Linked DNA regions of Homo sapiens: all the other regions are linked to region 2. The links are contacts of gene promoters, found by promoter capture Hi-C in blood cells and fetal thymus (Javierre and others, 2016). All regions are on one chromosome and are shown on one strand. Each heading gives the region's core, a stretch centred on a gene start or on the middle of the fragment in contact. The rest is flanking DNA. Distances are from core to core; before and after follow the strand shown. Region 1 has its middle 57 kb from the start of LINC01220. Region 2 holds the start of JDP2 (Jun dimerization protein 2). Region 3 has its middle 19 kb from the start of LINC01220.

Region 1 (3,332 bases), core at 745-3,244, 77 kb after region 2:
GTAGGAGGTTCACTGGGAAGCCTGGCTGTGCCTTAACACAGAGCAGGAGGTGATGGGGAAGGGAAGAGAGGGTGGGTTGCCATTATCCATCTCCACCTTAAAGAGAGTTGGTGTGGTTCGAATGAATTTCCCAGAAGCCCCTCCCTCACCTGCTGCAAAGGAGTCACTGGTTGTCCTGAGGGCTGCTTATTAAAGATTGTTTCCAGCTGCCTCAAACCAACGGCAGTCCCCTATATGTGTGCTTCTGAGAGGCTCCTCTCCCAACAGCCAGTGCTGCCTCAGTTTCTCCTGGGTTGTCAGTCTTTTGAAGTCTAAAAATTAAATGATTCAGATCAAATTCTTGATCTGGCACTTACTGGCATGTGTCCTTGAGTGGGAAAATTTCTTACCCTTATAGCCGGGCACAGAGGTTCTTGCCTGTAATCTCAGCACTTTGGGAAGCTGAGGCGGGAGGATTACTTGAGGGCAGGAGTTCAAGAACAGCCTGGGCAACATGGTGAAATCCCGTCTCTACAAAAAAAAAAAAAAAAAATTCTTAACCTCTGTGAATGTGCCTCAGTTTTCTCCCCTGCAATGTGGAAATTAGTGCCAATGCCTACCTTGGCATTGGCCATAGGATAATAAAACGGGCTCATCCAGGAAAGCACTTAACACAGAGCCTGGCACACATAACTGCCTTAAAAATGTTTGTGACAGACCCCAGGTCACATCCTTTATCCCTCTGTATACTAGGCCCTTGTCCTTTTACGCTCTCTGATGTCAAGGCAGCTGCAGCTGTGAGATTTTCCAGCCCTTACCCAAAGCTGAGAACCAAAGACTGTTCATGGTACATTTCTGTACTAGAGGAATAGGAAAGCATATGATTGGAGAACCTGATGGAGACCCCACCCTTCTGGACAAGCATTGACACTCAGGAATATCTGCTGTTGTTGCTACCCAGCTTCCATTCATGCTATCTTCAGGAATGATGCCCTGATTTCCCCTACAGAACATGGTACCCCACTCCCATTCCCAAAGCTTCAGATGGAGGCCTCTCCTGGCCTCAGAGTAGAGCACAAACCTAGGACTCAACCAATCAACGCACTCCATTCTCCTCACCACAGCAACTGGTTGGAGGATAGAAACACCGTCCATCTGAACCAATGACAGCCAGGCCTAAACTTTGGTCTGTGGGGAAACAGATGCTCTCTTTCCTACTGAATTGGATCTTAGAAGAAGTTACTTGGAGCCACTATGAATTTCTTCATTTTTTAAATCAGCATGCCCCCATTACTGTGTGAATTTTAAAAAAGGATGAAAGCTCAGAGCCAAAGGATTATTTGATATAACATATGTGAAAGCTTTTTGTACAAGGCAAAGTTCTATGCAAAATGTCAGAGCTCCTAAAGTCAAGCTATAAAATAAGACTGAGCTACTTTCACTGAGTCTTTTACTCTGCATCAGGTGTTTTATATGCACTATTGAATGTTACTGAATTTAATACTACCAATTGCCCTTTGAGGTAGGAATTATTTAAGGCCCATTTTACAGATAAAGAAAGTAAAGCTTAGTAAAATTAAGTATGCCCAAACCCACACTGGGGGGTTCTCTGGTAGAACAGCCTGCCTGTGTTATATACCCATATGACCAAAGGAACTGTGGAGTTTAACTTGTGTAACCTCACCAGATTCTGCATACAAGATGAAGTCACATTAGCTGTTATACCCAAATTTAGCTAAGTCATGCAATTATGCCCAAGTTCAGCTGAGTCCTGGCCCCTTTCTGCTCACAGGGATCTCATGCTACCCCTCCTTTGCCCTTCTCTCTCCCCTATCTCAAGCTCCAGACACCAGAATACCAAAGCAACTCCCCTATTCCCCACCCTCTGGTGCAAATCACTCAGACCAATGCCTGGAGAGCTCAGTTTGCAGCCATAGCAAAGCAAGATCACCCAGCTACAATGATACAATTGCCTGCCAATCACAAGCCAGCAGCTCTATCATTTTGTAGAGAAGGTTGGCTTCTCCTCTTATCTCCTCCATATTTCCACCCTCACATGTGGCCTTTTCTCTCCATTCATCTCGGTCCTTGGAGAAGGAAGGTCCTTTCTGAGTCTCTTCAATATCCAAGGTCTAATCTCTTCTGTATGTGATCCCCACCTACTACTGGAATCTTCCTCCACCCTTGGCTGGTGTGTCTCTACAGGCATCTCCTCCTACTGCTCAGATGGCACCTTCACCAGCTCCTCCTCCCCCTCCTGCCATCTTCTAACTCTGGAAAGTCACCAGGACTCAGTCCTGGATGCCACACCATTTTCCCTTCATAAGCTCTTCCTCAAGTAGGCCATTTCTCTTATGGCTTCAGTGACCACTTCTCTGAGGACAAATTCTAACTAAATCTCAGGCCCGGCCCACAGAACGTCCACTTGGATATATCCCTGTCACCTTAAAACCTTCAAGCTTAGAAGGGTCCCAAGTCCTCCCTGACAATTGGTTCTCTCTCTCCTAACTTCTCTATGTCTGTGAGCACATCTGTTTGTTTTCAGTTTAGGGGAGGAAAATTGCAGCCAGGCCTCTGCCATAACTAGCAATACTTAGCACCACTCTCTCCCTCCCCAGATTAAAATGAGTTGTCCTGTAGTAGGGTAGCTAATGACCACTCTGTGACAACCAAAAATCTCAGTGGCTTAACACAATACAGGTTAATTTCTTACTTCTGTCACAGATCAATGAGAAATCAAAGGTGAGGAACTCTGCTCCATATAGTCATTCAGGGACCCAAGCCCTTTCCCTAGTGGCTCTGTTATCTCCTAAGACTTGGAATCCCCCACTACATCCTCAGTGTACAGCCAGCAGATGAAAGACCAGAGAGAGTGATGGATCACAGGGGACACTTTTAGGAACCAGGACCAGAGGTGGTATACGGCACTTTCACCTGCATCCCACTGGTCGGGACTGAGTCACATGCCCCAGCAAACTACAAGAGAGGCTGGGAAATGTAATCTAGCCATGTGCCCAAAAGGAAAAGGAAATGGAGGTTGGTGAACACATAGCAATCACCTCTCAGCCTGGAGTGCTTGGTCTGCAACCTAACCCCTCAATAAGCCCCATATCTTGAAGAATTTCAACCTTGTCTCAACCAAGCAGCCCAACCACAGCTGCTCAACCTGCCCCTAAGTATCAACTTAATGACATTGGTTCTCACACAATTGCTAGTCTTCGTTCATCCAATAAACAGTTACTGAGCACTTAATCATCCCCCAGTTGTTATGCTATACACCAGAGAGGCAAAGGCAAGTAAAAAAGTGGTCCCTGCCCTCAAGAAGACCCCATCTTGTATAACCTCATTCAAAC
Region 2 (3,520 bases), core at 244-2,743:
ACGCGAATGCAGTTTCTACCAAGGGCTTAAAGGACGTTTGGGTACAAATGTACCCAAACATGGTTCAAAGCTTCCCAATTCCTGATGCTCCTCCAATTAAGACCCTAGGGAGAGACCACCAAGATTTAAGCCTGGGTACACACGCCTAAGCAGGCTGCAAGCCCTTTCTGAGATATAGACCTGAGCACATTTGCCCTGAGCACACGTGGTCGGGCCATAGCCCCATGCCCTGGATTCCAACAGGGAGGGCAGCACCCTGGGCAAGGGCCACGCCATCTTGCAACTGGAGATGACCCAAGGGGGTCGGCTGATTTCTCCTTCCACCAGCCTCTCCATCCCTGCAAAAGAGCCAGGACCTCCCCATCTTCCCCAGCCTCCTCATCTTCCCTGCTCCTCCTACTGACCCAGGCAAAGCCTGGCTCTGCCATCCCAGGGTCCAGGGATCCAGGTGGAAGGCCCAATCCACCCCTACACTCTCCCACCCCCCACTGCACCCCTACCCCTCGACAACCTCCTTTGAAGGGAGGAGCAGAGGAGAGCCTTCTAAGCTGGGCTGGGCAAGGGAGAGGCTGGTTACCTACAGGAGCCTGCTTGCCTCCTTATATAACCTGGCGTGGGAGACAGGAGAGCCCAAAGGGGACCCCGGCCACCCCTAGATCCCCTCCCAGCCCAGAGCTCCGAAGCAATGGCCATGAGAGAAGCTGCCTTCATTGGATGGAAATCCCGAGCCCTTCTCAATACTCTCCTCCGGGTCCGGGTCCTCCGGGAGTCGCGCTTCCTCACTGCCAGGAGGTCCTTGTCATCCCTCCACAATCTAACCCCGACCCCAACCCCGCACCTCCCTGGCCCTTCACCCTCCACCTCCACCCGCACAGCCCATCTCCGCGGGCACTTTTCTCCCCACTCACCCCGCCTTCCCCGCCGCCCGAGGAGAGCACCTCCCTGCAAACGGACGGGGGAGGAGAGCGCGGGAGGGAGAAGGAGGGAGCACCCCGGCTGTCCAGGGAGCGGACGGAGCCTCCCGTCCCGGGGCGGGAACCAAAAGGAAGCCTCAGGCTGCCGGGCGCCTCGCGGGAGGGGCCCGGCTGCAGCGCCCGGCGCGGGGAAAGCTCGAGGTCCCTGGGCTGCGGGAGCCTCCCCGCGGGGCTGGGCTGGGGCTCCTCGCGCTCCGCCCGTGCGGGGGCGGCCGTCCCAGGTGCCCGCGCCGCGCCCTGCCCCGCCCCGCCCGTCCCGGCGCCCCCAGCGCGCGCCCTCGCACCCACCGTGCAGAAGGTGCGGGGGGAGGCGGCGCCCCCGGGGCCGGGGCCCGGCTGCAGGCGCCGTGCCCGCTCCGCGCCGCTGCCGCCCGGCCGCGGAGCTCCGCCCGGTGCCCAGGCCTGTCCCGGCCCGGGAGCCGCCGCGGCGCCAGCCCCGCCGCCGCTGCAGCGTCCGCCGCCGCCAGCGCCCCCCGTCGCGGCCGCCGAGCGTCCCTCCCGCAGGCTGTGGCGGGCGGCGGGACGGGTTGCATCAGCCCCGGCTATATAGCGGCCCCTGGGCGGCGGGGAGGGGTCGGGAATGCGGAACCGGCCGAGCTGCCAGCTCCAGACGTCAGAGGGGGACGGAGAGGAAGGGAAGGAGGGGACCGGGGAGGAGGGGGTGTGGAGCCGGCGCTTCACACCCACTGACCTTAACCTCCCCCGCCGCCTTGGGCGCCCTCCTCCCGCGGCCGCTCGCGCTCCTCTCCCCGCGGGGGCGTCCCGGGTTCCATGCAGTCCCCCGGCTCCGCCACCCCACGGTGCAGGAGCGCTCGAGAAAGCAGGACGCGGCGAGCGGTTATGTAAGCGCACCCCCCGCGCACCGCCGCCCGGCTTGTGCCCGCCAGGCAGCAGCAGCCGCAGCCCTAGGAGAGAGACGCGAGAGGCCGGAGCCGGGGGAAAAGTCAAAAGCCCCTTCACGCACAGCCTGTGTTAACCATGTACCTCAGTCCCGGCGCTTCCCCCACAAACTGAGAGCGACAGGGAGAATTTCCGCACAGTTTCATCCTTGGACACTTCAGGACTGAGCGGGTGAGGAGGCGATCTCGCCAGCCTGCTTTATTTTTCGGTGGAGAAGGATGGGCTGAGATGAAGGCATTTGGGGACTCCTACCCCTACCCACCGGCCCCCGCCAGCGCCCTTAGGCCCCGAGACGGCTGGCTGCACCAGCCTGACCTCTGCTAGGGCTGCAGCCTGAGACCGCGGCTTGCTCTACTGCTGGCGCAGTTTGACCCTTGGGCTTGTACCCTGCTCCAGCGGGCTTCTCCTTTCCACTCCGGACACAGCAGTGAGCAGACCCAGCCCTCAGCAGACCCCAAGTGGCCTTCTTCCCCGTTCCAGCTTCAATAGCCAACCCCACTCCCACCTTCCATCCTTCTAGAGAGGAAATGGTGAAGGGGACTCCAGAGGGAAGGCGACATCCATGGTGCCCTCCAGTATACAAAGGCAGAGACACAGAGCCCTCAGGTAGAACGGGGTTCCCTAGATGGCATCTCCTACCTCCAGAGCTCCTGGGTACCCATCGAGCCCCCTACCTTCTGCCTAAGCCAGATAGGAGTGACGATTTTTATACTCAGCGACTTTCGGCCTCCTTCTGAGAGTGATGTCAGGTCATCACCCATAGAAGAAAGGAAGTGAAAGAAAAAGTTCATGCCTTCTTGGAGTGCAGATGCTCAGAGTGAAAGAAACAACAAGACTTGAGACAGATGGGTGCCATTGAGCAAACCCGAACATGCATGTCTCTCTCATGTGAGTGAGTGCATGAGACTTTATTCTCCTTATTTCCCCAGTGCAGTGAAATCTTTCTGGATAAAAGAAGTGGGCTAATGGAAGGAGAGACAGACCAAGTCCCAATGACATTGCCTGACCATTTTCACCTTCGCCATCAGCAGTCTCCCTCACAGCATTGGTGTGGGCAGGTAAGAAGAAAGCAAGGCCCTGAAAGAATATACATTGGAAAATGAGCAGTAATTTGATACTCTTGTGGAAGAGCATGACTCTTCGCCCCAGAAAGGCCAATGACACCTTTACTACAGCGTAAAGATCAAAGCCAGGGACTGTGAAACTGCCTCATGATGTTTCTCCCATGAGACCTGTGTCTGGATGTTTATATGGAACAAAACATGGAACAGAGGCAATAGTACTTGATGTGTCTTCAGCTGGGGCTTTGGATAAACTAAACTGATCTATATTCAGGGACTAATAATTAGGGTGTGTGGTTAGAGCGCGTCCTCTCTAGGGCCTGTTTTGGACTGTGGCTGGGCCACCAGCAGTCCTACTGGGCCTTTGCTTCCCCCACAAATTAAATATGTTACAGGGGTGGCACCAAGGGGTGACTTGGGAGGCCTTTAGTCCCCTCTACCTCTCTATAATCTCCATTAGATCTTCTCTGTTATTTGCTATTGATGCTTTTCAGTTTCATATAGGACGCTATAAGAACACAGCTTCAAGGCCTCCCTTCCGCCACATACTCCCTACTAGGCCCCTCTACGTAGTCACTGCCTCTG
Region 3 (3,310 bases), core at 692-3,191, 120 kb after region 2:
GGTGTGGTGGTGCATGCCTGTAGTCCTAGCTACTCAGGAGGCTGAAGCAGGAGGATCACTTAAGCCCAGGTGGTCGAGGCTGCAGTGAGCCATGACTGTGCCACTGCATTCCAGCCTGGGAGACAAAGCGAGATCCTGTCTCAAAAAAAAACAGAGACATGTTCTTGTTCTAGACTTTCTGTATTGCCCTACATCATCACCCCTCCTGGTTAGTAGGGAAACCTCTCCCCTTTGCCCCCTTTCTCTTATTTTCTCTATTATTTAGAATGCTTTTGGATGATGATAATTATTATTATTGATGATGATGATAGTAGCTAATATTTATTGGGTCATAGTTTGGGTTACCAGGAAGTGACTCTGAGAACAGCATTCAGGTTGTACAGTTGGGATCAACACCTGTAGAAAGAGAGGGGAAAAAAAGTGGGATTCAGCAAAGGGAGAAGTTTTAGAGGAGACAAATCAGTGAAACGAGTTTGCCTCCCCACGTTTCCCCAGTGTGTAGTTGAGACTGTTGTCTGAGCCAACACATGTTCACATTGTTCCCAGGTTCTCCCATCATGTAATGAGAATAATTCTATCATTTCTCACAAGGCGAGAGGGACACAAATGAAGAAAAGACCAAAACACAGAATTTGAAGCCAGTCTGCCTGGGTTCAAATCCCAGCTCTCCCTTGTACCATCTAGGTGATCTAGGGCAAGATGCTTGATCCTTCTGAGCCTCCATTTCCTCGTCCACTAAATGAGAATACTGTTACTAGCTACCGCACAAAGTTGTTGTGAAGATGAGTGAGGGATTATATGTAAAACACTGGGTGGAATGCCTGGCTCACAGGAAGCACTATGTGTTGGCTGTGGGACTGTACGGCCTTCAGTATTGAAGAAATCACTCATCATGCAACTCTCCTTCACTTATGCAACCACACACACACAACACCCACGTTACACACATACACATGCAACACGTGCAGCATACAGCACGTACTCAACAAAACATACACAGTACACATACATAAAGCAGCAAAGCCTTGTTTCATAAGTTGTCCTTTTTTTCTTTTTTTTTGAGAAGGAGTCTCGTGCTGTCGCTCAGGCTAGAGTGCAGTGGCGTGATCTCGGCTCACTGCAACCTCTACCTCCACCTCCTGAGTTCAAGCGATTCTCCTGCCTCAGCCTCCTGAAGAGCTGGGACTACAGGTGTGCACCACCATGCCCGGCTAATTTTTGTATATTAAGTAGAAACGGGGTTTCACCATGTTGGCCAGGCTGGTCTTGAACTCCCGACCTCAAGTGATCCACCTGCCTCCGCCTCCCAAAATGCTGGGATTACAGGCATGAGCCACTGCGCCCAGCCTCATACTCTGTTCTTTGTGTACTTTGTGGTTTCATTCCATTTTAAAGCCAAATCTCTGCTAATACACACCCATGATGCTCATTGTTCTTCCCCATTGCATGTCATTGTGACATCATGCAATGCCATGATAAGGCGATTTACCAATTGCACATTCTAATTGCTCTCAGAGCATAATATTCATTAGCAATTTTCTTTCATAAGCTTCTTAGCAATAATGTTTCCTCCAATGCAGTATAGCATTCAAAGGTGGAACTTTGGAGTCAGATGAACTTGGGTTGAAATCCTGACATTACTACTTACCAGCTTTGTGACTTGAGGCAAGCTGCTAAACTTCTCTAGCTATAACATTATTCTCATTTTATCAATCAGGAAACAAAGAACCAGAAAGACCAAATCAGTAATCGTGAGTCTCATATTGTTATCTATAAAAAAGCTGCACCTTGCAAGGAATGAAAAGATAAGGTGTGTACCACATTTAAATTGGTGCTTGCCACATGCTAATATATGCTAATAAAACATTTTGTAATGATAAAAGTGATGGTAGTGATGAATGGCTTATTTCTTTATTTTATTTTATTTGAGTCGGAGTCTCACTCTGTTGCCCAGGCTGGAGTGCAGTGGTGTGATCTCAGCTCACTGCAACCTCCGCCTCCCAGGTTCAAGTGATTCTCCTGCCTCAGCCACCCGAGTAGCTGGGATTACAGGCATCCACCACCACACCCAGCTAATTTTTGTATTTTCAGTAGAGACAGGGTTTCACCGTGTTGGCCAGGCTGGTCTCGAACTCCTGGCCTCAAGTGACCTGCTTGCCTCAGCCTCCCAAGGTGCTGGGATTACAGGCGTGAGCCACTGCACCCGGCCAATGGCTTATTTCTTTAAATAGAAAAAAGAAATGCATTGAATAAATCATTGACAGTTAATGGGACTCTCTGGTGATGAACCTGGGTTCTACCCATGCCTGGAGGCTCCAGGTCCCATAAGCTTCCACCCAGCATTGTGTTGTAACTGTACCATTTCCCTTCATGAAATTTGAGAGGTGATGTTTTGACATTATTTCATTTTGTTTCATTTCCTCTTGATGGGTGGGCTTAACCTGTTTCTCAATTTAGGCAGAGCAAAAGGGAGAAGTATTTTAAATTGCCATGATAGTCCAAGTTGGTCTTACCTTCAGGCCCCTGAGCACGAGCCCAAAATTCTCTCCAACTCTCCTACGGTATTTGGGTATTTTCCAATTCCTAGAAATGCCAGATATAAATAACCCTTTCCTTAGTTTCCTCCAAAACTCTCCCTTTCTCCTTTCCTTTTGCCTCTTGGCATTTGGGTACCATAACAATGAATTTTGAAATAATACTTTAATCACATTTTATATTCTTGGCCAGGCTCAGTGGCTCATGCCTATAATCCCAACATTTTGGGAGGCCCCATCTCAAATTAAAAAAAAAAAATTACATTCTTATGGTGCATTTCTGTTCACTAAATGCATTCATATCCACTCTTCACAGTTGGCAGTAAGGAAGATAGTGTAAGTTCCATTTGATGGATGATACAGCTGAGGTTCAAAGAGGTGAACCCACGTGCCCTCGATGCTGGCCTTCAAGCCAACACCATTTCCTGCTGCAGCAAGAAGACAGTCTTTACTGACAGACACATTTATTTTTATTATGGTAAAATATACATAACAAAGTTTACTGTTTGAAACTTTTAAAGTCTACAGTTGAGTGGCATTAAGTACATTCGCATTGTTGTGCAACTCTCATCACCATCATCTCCAGAATGTTTCATCTTCCCAAATTGAAACTTCATACTCATTAAATACTCACTCCCCATTTTCCCCTCCCCTCGGCCTCTGGCAATCACCCCTCTACTTTCTGTCTGTTTGAATTTGACTACTCTAGGAAGCTCACATGAGTAGAATCATAAGCTATTTTTCCTTCTGTGTGATAGACACTTTTGCAGCAAGAT

The links. Contacts are between HindIII fragments. The CHiCAGO score rates a contact against its expected background, and 5 or more counts as called.
Region 1: a contact is called between a fragment that was not itself captured here and the fragment with the promoter of JDP2 in region 2, in 2 of 17 cell types (monocytes and M1 macrophages). The highest score is 8.4, in monocytes.
Region 3: a fragment that was not itself captured here is called in contact with the fragment with the promoter of JDP2 in region 2 in 8 of 17 cell types (monocytes, M1 macrophages, M0 macrophages and 5 more); the score reaches 13.1 in monocytes.

What each region holds. Positions count from the first base shown.
Region 1 is chr14:75,349,260-75,352,591 of GRCh38, reverse strand. No RefSeq gene overlaps it. Among named protein-coding and RNA genes, the nearest start is that of LINC01220, 57 kb to the right of the region's middle. The HindIII fragment of the contact is 893 bases long and covers 1,548-2,440 here.
Region 2 is chr14:75,425,995-75,429,514 of GRCh38, reverse strand. JDP2 (Jun dimerization protein 2) reads right to left here and starts at 1,493. Exons shown (of 4, transcript NM_001135048.2): 1 at 1,263-1,493. JDP2-AS1 (JDP2 antisense RNA 1) reads left to right here and starts at 1,860. Exons shown (of 2, transcript NR_184172.1): 1 at 1,860-2,045; 2 at 2,804-3,520. RefSeq lists silencers at 845-1,014, 1,075-1,254, 1,505-1,774 and enhancers at 1,440-1,997, 1,965-2,024, 2,045-2,374, 2,625-2,724. The HindIII fragment of the contact is 6,934 bases long and covers 73-3,520 here.
Region 3 is chr14:75,311,616-75,314,925 of GRCh38, reverse strand. No RefSeq gene overlaps it. Among named protein-coding and RNA genes, the nearest start is that of LINC01220, 19 kb to the right of the region's middle. The HindIII fragment of the contact is 780 bases long and covers 1,552-2,331 here.